Regions from separate parts of the Homo sapiens genome. Here region 2 is linked to region 1. Evidence: promoter capture Hi-C in 16 types of primary human blood cells and fetal thymus (Javierre and others, 2016). All regions are on one chromosome and are shown on one strand. The core of a region is centred on a gene start or on the middle of the fragment in contact, and the rest is flanking DNA. Distances in the headings are between cores, read along the strand shown.

Region 1 (3,141 bases), core at 472-2,971:
TACAGCAACAAAGTTACAAAGCCTTCCAGGAGCACAAATGAGAAAGAGATCCCCTCTCCCTGAGGGAAGATAAAGATTTTTTTTTATGCAGGAGACATTTGAAATGGAACTTGAAAAATGGGTTTGAAAAATACTACAGGTAAAGATGGAAAAATGGCAACATAAGCAAAATATGGGATTAAAAAAGGGAGGGAGAGCAGAGAAAGTAATTCTCAATTGGCTGAAGATTCAAGTTGGTAAAGGAAACTAGTGAAAGCAAAGAAAGGCATGTTGGGTCCAGAACACGCAGGAGCTAGGGTCGCTTGCCATGCTAGAGTAACTTAAAAACCTGTCCTCTTTCCATCACATTAAACAGTGGTGAAAAATCCGAAAGCCATATTAAAGAAGAGATGTCAGGGATATGACTACTTAAAATTCAGGAAACTACTTTTGTAAAATCAAGAGCTGTTAGGAAGGGTTATACCTGTGCCCTTATGGTGTGTGGCAAACTTGCTCCCTCGAAACCCTACTTGACTCAGATACACAAAATTTTAAATGAAAGCAACTGAAGATGTGGACAAATACTGGCAAGGTAACAATATCAGTACAAAGCAAAACTGTGTGTGGCTACGTGCTTCCAGTTTTTGTATCAATCTCAAGGCAGCAACGTTTACGTAGGTACCAATGACACTCAGCACAGCTTCATGTGCTTGTAGATGAAGTTTTAAAACCACATTAAGAGGCCGGAGACGGTGGCTTACACCTGTAATCCCAGCACTTTGGGAGGCCGAGGCGGGTGGATCACCTGAGGTCAAGAGTTCGAGACCAGTCTGGCCAACATGGTGAAACTCCGTCTGTACTAAAAATACAAAAAAAAAAAAAAAAAAATTAGCCAGGCGTGGTGGCACGCGCCTGTAATCTCAGCTACTCGGGAGGCTGAGGCAGGAGAATCGCTTGAACCCGGGAGGCAGAGGTCGCGGTGAGCCGAGATCACTCCAGCCTGGGCGACAGAGCAAGACTCCATCTCAAAAGATAGATAGATACATAAAAATAAAAACATACTGAGGGTTTGGGTTTGTTTTTTTTTTAATGTCGGGGAGGAGAAAGGTGCAATCCTCCAGGCTATTTTATTCATCAACAAATCAAGGAGTGGGTGGAGGAAATAAACACTCATCGATGGAAGAAGGGGAAGGGGGATCCTGTCTTTTCTATTCCTCTCCTGCGCTCGCTCCCTAGCTTCCTCGGAGCTTCCAGTTGCTCCTCCCGCTCTGCTGGTCTCTTCAGTCTCCCTCTTCCCGCGGCACACCCCTCCCCAACATAACTCCACTCTCCAGTGCTCTCCAGCCACCGCCTGTTCGTCCCCACAGTCCCAGGTCTCCTCGCCTCCTCAGTTCCCAACCCCTGTGTGGGCTCCCCTCCAAGATCCCTCCTCAATCCACACATTCTGGGCCCCTCCACTCCTCATTCAGCCCCCACAACTAGATCTCCCCAACAGGCCCCACTCTGCTGGTCCCCACTCTGTCTGCCCTTAGCCCCTGACTCCTCTCTCCAGTCCCTTCACACAAGGACCCGGAGTCCCCTTCCAGTCAGCAGACAGCTGCCCCGCTCTCACCTTGATCTCCTCCACCCGCCGGGTCAGGCGGCTGATCCGGGTCCCCAGATCCTCCTTTTCCAGCCTCCCGGAGTGTGCCAAAACTTCTGTCACGAACGAGGCCATGGCCAAGACGGGAACCAACGCTGACTGGGTCACTCTCGTAGCCAGCGCCGCAGCTCCCGTCCCGCCGGCCGTCTTGACGCGAGGCCTGCCGGGAAACGGAGTCTCGCGGGCCTCAGACCGCCGCCCGGAAGGCGAGGGGCGCACTACAACTCCCAGCAGGCACCGCGCCAATCCCGAGATGGGATTTCCACGGTGTCCCGTAGTTGGCAAACTGTAAGCAGACGCGTTTTCTTCCTTAGTTGTTTTCAAAGTTCGTTGCTTCCCGCCCGTTTTTCACTGGAGGAAATTAAACGTTTTTAATAACCAGGTCTAACTGAACCTTTCTAAACTTCAAAAGGCTTACTTGTAAAATTATCTAACTGAAAGAGCCAACGAGCCCATCTCGATCTTTTTTCCTCAACTTTTATTGGGCCGCTGTGGCACCAGAATCTACGAATGGCGCCCTCTAGAGTTGTGTAAAGAAGTGGCGTCACCTCATTATAAATAAAAGGTTGCTTATAATTGCATCTATGTACATATATTACATCTACGTGATACATTACACATTTACATTACCTACATTACATATTTATATTACTTAGATATACATAATATTAGTCCTGTGTGAACAAGATACTTAGTACTTTCTGTCATATTATAAATATATAAATGTGTCAAAAGCTTTTAAAAATGGTTTCATTATTTTAATGCATTGCATACAGAAAGATGTTCACAATATTCTATGTATACTATGATTCCTTTTTAAAAACTTAAGTGTATAACCATTGGTCAGAAAACAAAAAGTATGTAAGTATGTATGTAAAGGACAGACATCAAATTATCCTATGGGTGGTGGATTTATGGTATTTATTCTCTTCTCTGCCCTTGCTTTCTCTATTTTTCTGCAGTAAACATACACAGTCCTCCCTTGGTATGGGGGGATTGGTTCCAGAAACCTCCCCTGCCCCAGTAGCAAAATCCGTGGATGCTCAAGTCTCTTACATAAAATGATGTAATGTTTACAAGTAACCAGCACACATCCTCCCCATACACTTTAAATCATCTCTTGATTACTTATAAGACCTAATACAAATCAATCTAAATGCTATAGAGTCGTTATATTGTATTTTGATTTGCATTATTTTTTGTTGTTGTATTGTTATTTTTTATTAGTTTTTTCCAGAATATTTTTGATCTGTGGTTGGTTGGATCCGTGGATACCAAGAGCCAGATGTACTGTTTTGATTAAAAGGTTTTTGGTTTTTTAAAAAGATATATTGTGAGGGTTGACCCCAAGTAGGCACTGACTCTAAGATCCCTGACAATTGTTAAGTGTCTTTGAGACAATCTGCTTATCCCAGTGAAGCAAGGGCCAATTCACATGCCATGAGCAAAGGAAACAAAACTGGGATTGAGAGAGGAAGCACTGAAAACAGCCAAAACATCCTGAGAAACTCCCTTCCTTG
Region 2 (3,141 bases), core at 209-2,708, 1.5 Mb before region 1:
AAGTGCTGGGATTACAGGCGTGAGCCACCATGCTCAGCCTGTTCTCTGTCTCTTGTATCTCCCCATGACCTTCAGTGTTCAGACACTGGGTCACCTCTCATTTCCTAAATGTCTGTTCTCTTTCTTGCCTCTCCAAGTTCAGCTGCAGAGCAGCTGCATTCCTCAGTAGGCAGTGGGAGAGACTCTGTCTTTCTCCTGCGCTGCAGCCCGTCTCATCACAGGCTTCAGGTGGTCCCTTTGGGCTCCCACAGCAGTCAAGCTTCCTGCGCATGATTAAAGGGATGCTGGTGCTTCTGAAATAAAGCACCAGGGGCAGAGGCTGATGGCTCAAGCCCAATCCCCAGGTCTCCCAGAGCTGGCTTCCCTGGTAGGCAATCACAGACTTTGCAGGGAGGAGCCATCTCCTTTGTTCTTATGTGTTGCTTCTTTCTTGCTACCCAGGCTCATGTTAATTGCTTTTCTGACATTTTTTCTGGCAAGTGATTTTTGCTGCTGCTTGTGGAGGTGACATGGCAAGCCCACAAGGGAGCGATAACAATGACCTAATGCAGAGCCGAGGAGGCTGGGGCTCCTATACGGGGTAGAAGATAATGAAGTTGAGTCATGAACAATTTGTTCTAAATGGTCAGTGAGATAGGCTCAGAGCCTTCAGAAATGAGAGTAGCCTGTGGCCAAGGCTTTCCTGAGAAGTTGTTCCCTCGGCCTTTGTAGTTCTGGCAGACCACCCTTCCTGGTGCAGGGACCTCAGGATGTGGGAACCTGTGCACAGGGCTAGATGATTCCTAAGGTCTTCCAAGAGCTTGTGAATGTCGGCAGCACAGAGACTAGAACTATGATGATCCTATCTTCCCAGCTACCTGTCAGAACACGTAGTCTGGTAATCCAGCAACTCCATTAGCCCAGATATTTATTCCACTTACTCTGTGCCAGGCATGGTGTTAGCTGGAGACATGACAGTAAATGGGTCACAGTTCCTACCTCAGTTCAGCTCACAGCCCGGATGGGAGACAGACCCACACTTAGATAATTATAATGCAGCAGGGCGAGTACCAGGATCCAGTGATGTATGGGGGTTATTCTGAGCACAGAGGAGAGGTCTCAGGGGCCAGGACAGGCTTCCTGGAGGCAGCACCAACACTACTGAGTCTTGAATAAGCAGAAGTTATAGCTGGGCCAGGCCAAGGGGAGTATAGGGGTGAGGAGGGAAGAGCTGATTTCTTCTCCTGCCTGAACCACCTGTTTAAAAGCAACATGGGGAAACAAAGCCATATGAAGAGGGGAAGTTGACAAGCACAAGTCCCTTGACTCTACAGAACAAATTTTAATCTCCCTTTCTTTGTACGAGGGTCTCCAACTCAGTGTCCAGCCACCCAAGCTCTAGCCTGTGGGGACCCTTCATAACTCCTCCCAGGGGGTCAAGGCAACCCAGCATTTCCTGGGGGATGCAGATGAGTGTGGCCTAATAATTCTTGCTCCAATCAGCGACTGTCTAAAATGTGGGCAACCTGAGCACCCAGTGCCATCCAGAGCTCAGGGTAGGTGCTCATCATGTCCTTGATTGCAGCTGCATGTGTGTTTGCCTCTTACCTGTCATGATGATCAACAGGAGCTCGGCAGTTGTAATCAGCAACGAGAGTTACACATGTCATTAGGTTTACAGAGTAACATGGGCCAGGCCAGAAGATATGTCTGCAAGAGGTCTCCTTGGTATGGCCAGCTATGGCCAGAGGAATAATAAAGGCAAGGCCTTCCCAGGTGGGCACCTCTGCTATTTTCTACTGGAGGCAGGGGCTGAGTCCTCGAGTGGGGAAATGCCGATGTGGCCAGTTTCTCTAAGGACTCTGGGGCTCTGTTGGCCCCTTGGCTACATTTCTTGACTTTGCCATTGTTATTATTAGCTTTTCTAGGTGGATAATGGGATAATGGGAGGCAATGTGGTTAACATTTTTTTTAAAAAAAATAAATGTTGGCCGGGTGCGGTAGCTCATGCCTGTAATCCCAGCACTTTGGGAGGCCAAGGCCAGTGGATTACCTGAGGTCAGGAGTTTGAGACTAGCCTGGCCAGCATGATGAAACCCTGTATCTACTAAAAATACAAAAATTAGCCAATGTAGTGGCTCATGCCTGTAGTCCCAGCCACTTGGGAGGCTGAGGCAGGAGAATCGCTTGAACCCAGGAGGTGGAGGTTGCAGTGAGCCGAGGTTGTGCCACTGCACTTCAGCCTGGGTGACAAGGGTGAAACTCCGTCTTAAAAAAAAATGTATTGTGTGTATCGAAGGTATCCAACATGATGTTAATGTGATTTTATGAAAAGCAGCCTTTGCAGTCAAGTAGACATGAACTTGAATCTTAGCTCTGCCACTTCAGCTGTGCAGCTTTGAACACTTAACTTCTTTCAATGTGAGTTTCTCATCTATTAAATGGGGTTAATCATGTCTATTTGTATCTATTTCCAAAGAGTGTTGTGAAGATCCAAGGGGATAGCACGTGTAAAGCACATTCTTCTTACCTTTTATCTCCCTGAGCTGAGTGTAGAGGCTGCAGTCATTCATTGAACAATTGTTTATTGTCTACTTATTGCTAACCATTGTTGCGGGTTCTGCGGAAACAGTAATGAACAAAAGTCTCTGTTCTCATCAAGTTCACATTCTGGTGGGGAAGCTTGAAAATAAGTAAGTAAACTAAGCAGGATAACTTCAGATAGTGATAAAAGCTATACAGAAAAGGAAACAGGCCCATAGGATAGAAGTGATTTGGTGGGAGGCCTGAAGAGGCTTTAGGGAGCACAGTGGTCTTTGAACCAAGACCTGGAGGCCAAGAAGGAGCTGGGCCTGCGGAGACCTGAGGAAGAGCATTCCAGGCAGAGAGAAGAGCAAGGGCACAAAGTGCTGAGGTGGGAAAGCATTTGGCAAGAAAGAAGATGCTTGCAGGAGGAGCACTGTGAACCCTGGGGAGTGTGGGATGAGGAGAGGAGCAGGAGTGAGTTCCATGCATGTTCCCAAACTCTGTGCTGAGGTGTTCTTGGAGCTGCTGTGGATTCAGAGGGGCTCTTTGAGATATTTTAAAGGCCAAAGGCAACACTCAACTTTTGTTGGGCTCCATGCAAACTACTAAGTAGTGCAGGATAGCTTGAAGACTCAA

What was found. The method cuts DNA at HindIII sites, captures the fragments that hold promoters and counts their contacts. A CHiCAGO score of 5 or more calls a contact.
Region 2: a contact is called between a fragment that was not itself captured here and the fragment with the promoter of ZW10 in region 1, in 1 of 17 cell types (naive CD8 T cells). The highest score is 5.7, in naive CD8 T cells.

The regions. Positions count from the first base shown.
Region 1 is chr11:113,771,971-113,775,111 of GRCh38, forward strand. ZW10 (zw10 kinetochore protein) reads right to left here and starts at 1,722. Exons shown (of 16, transcript NM_004724.4): 1 at 1,592-1,722. The coding sequence starts at 1,696. RefSeq lists enhancers at 1,453-1,722, 1,853-1,912. The HindIII fragment of the contact is 9,750 bases long and covers 1-2,354 here.
Region 2 is chr11:112,285,650-112,288,790 of GRCh38, forward strand. The region is part of intron 1 of LINC02762 (long intergenic non-protein coding RNA 2762); the gene reads left to right. Among named protein-coding and RNA genes, the nearest start is that of LINC02762, 16 kb to the left of the region's middle. The HindIII fragment of the contact is 2,402 bases long and covers 258-2,659 here.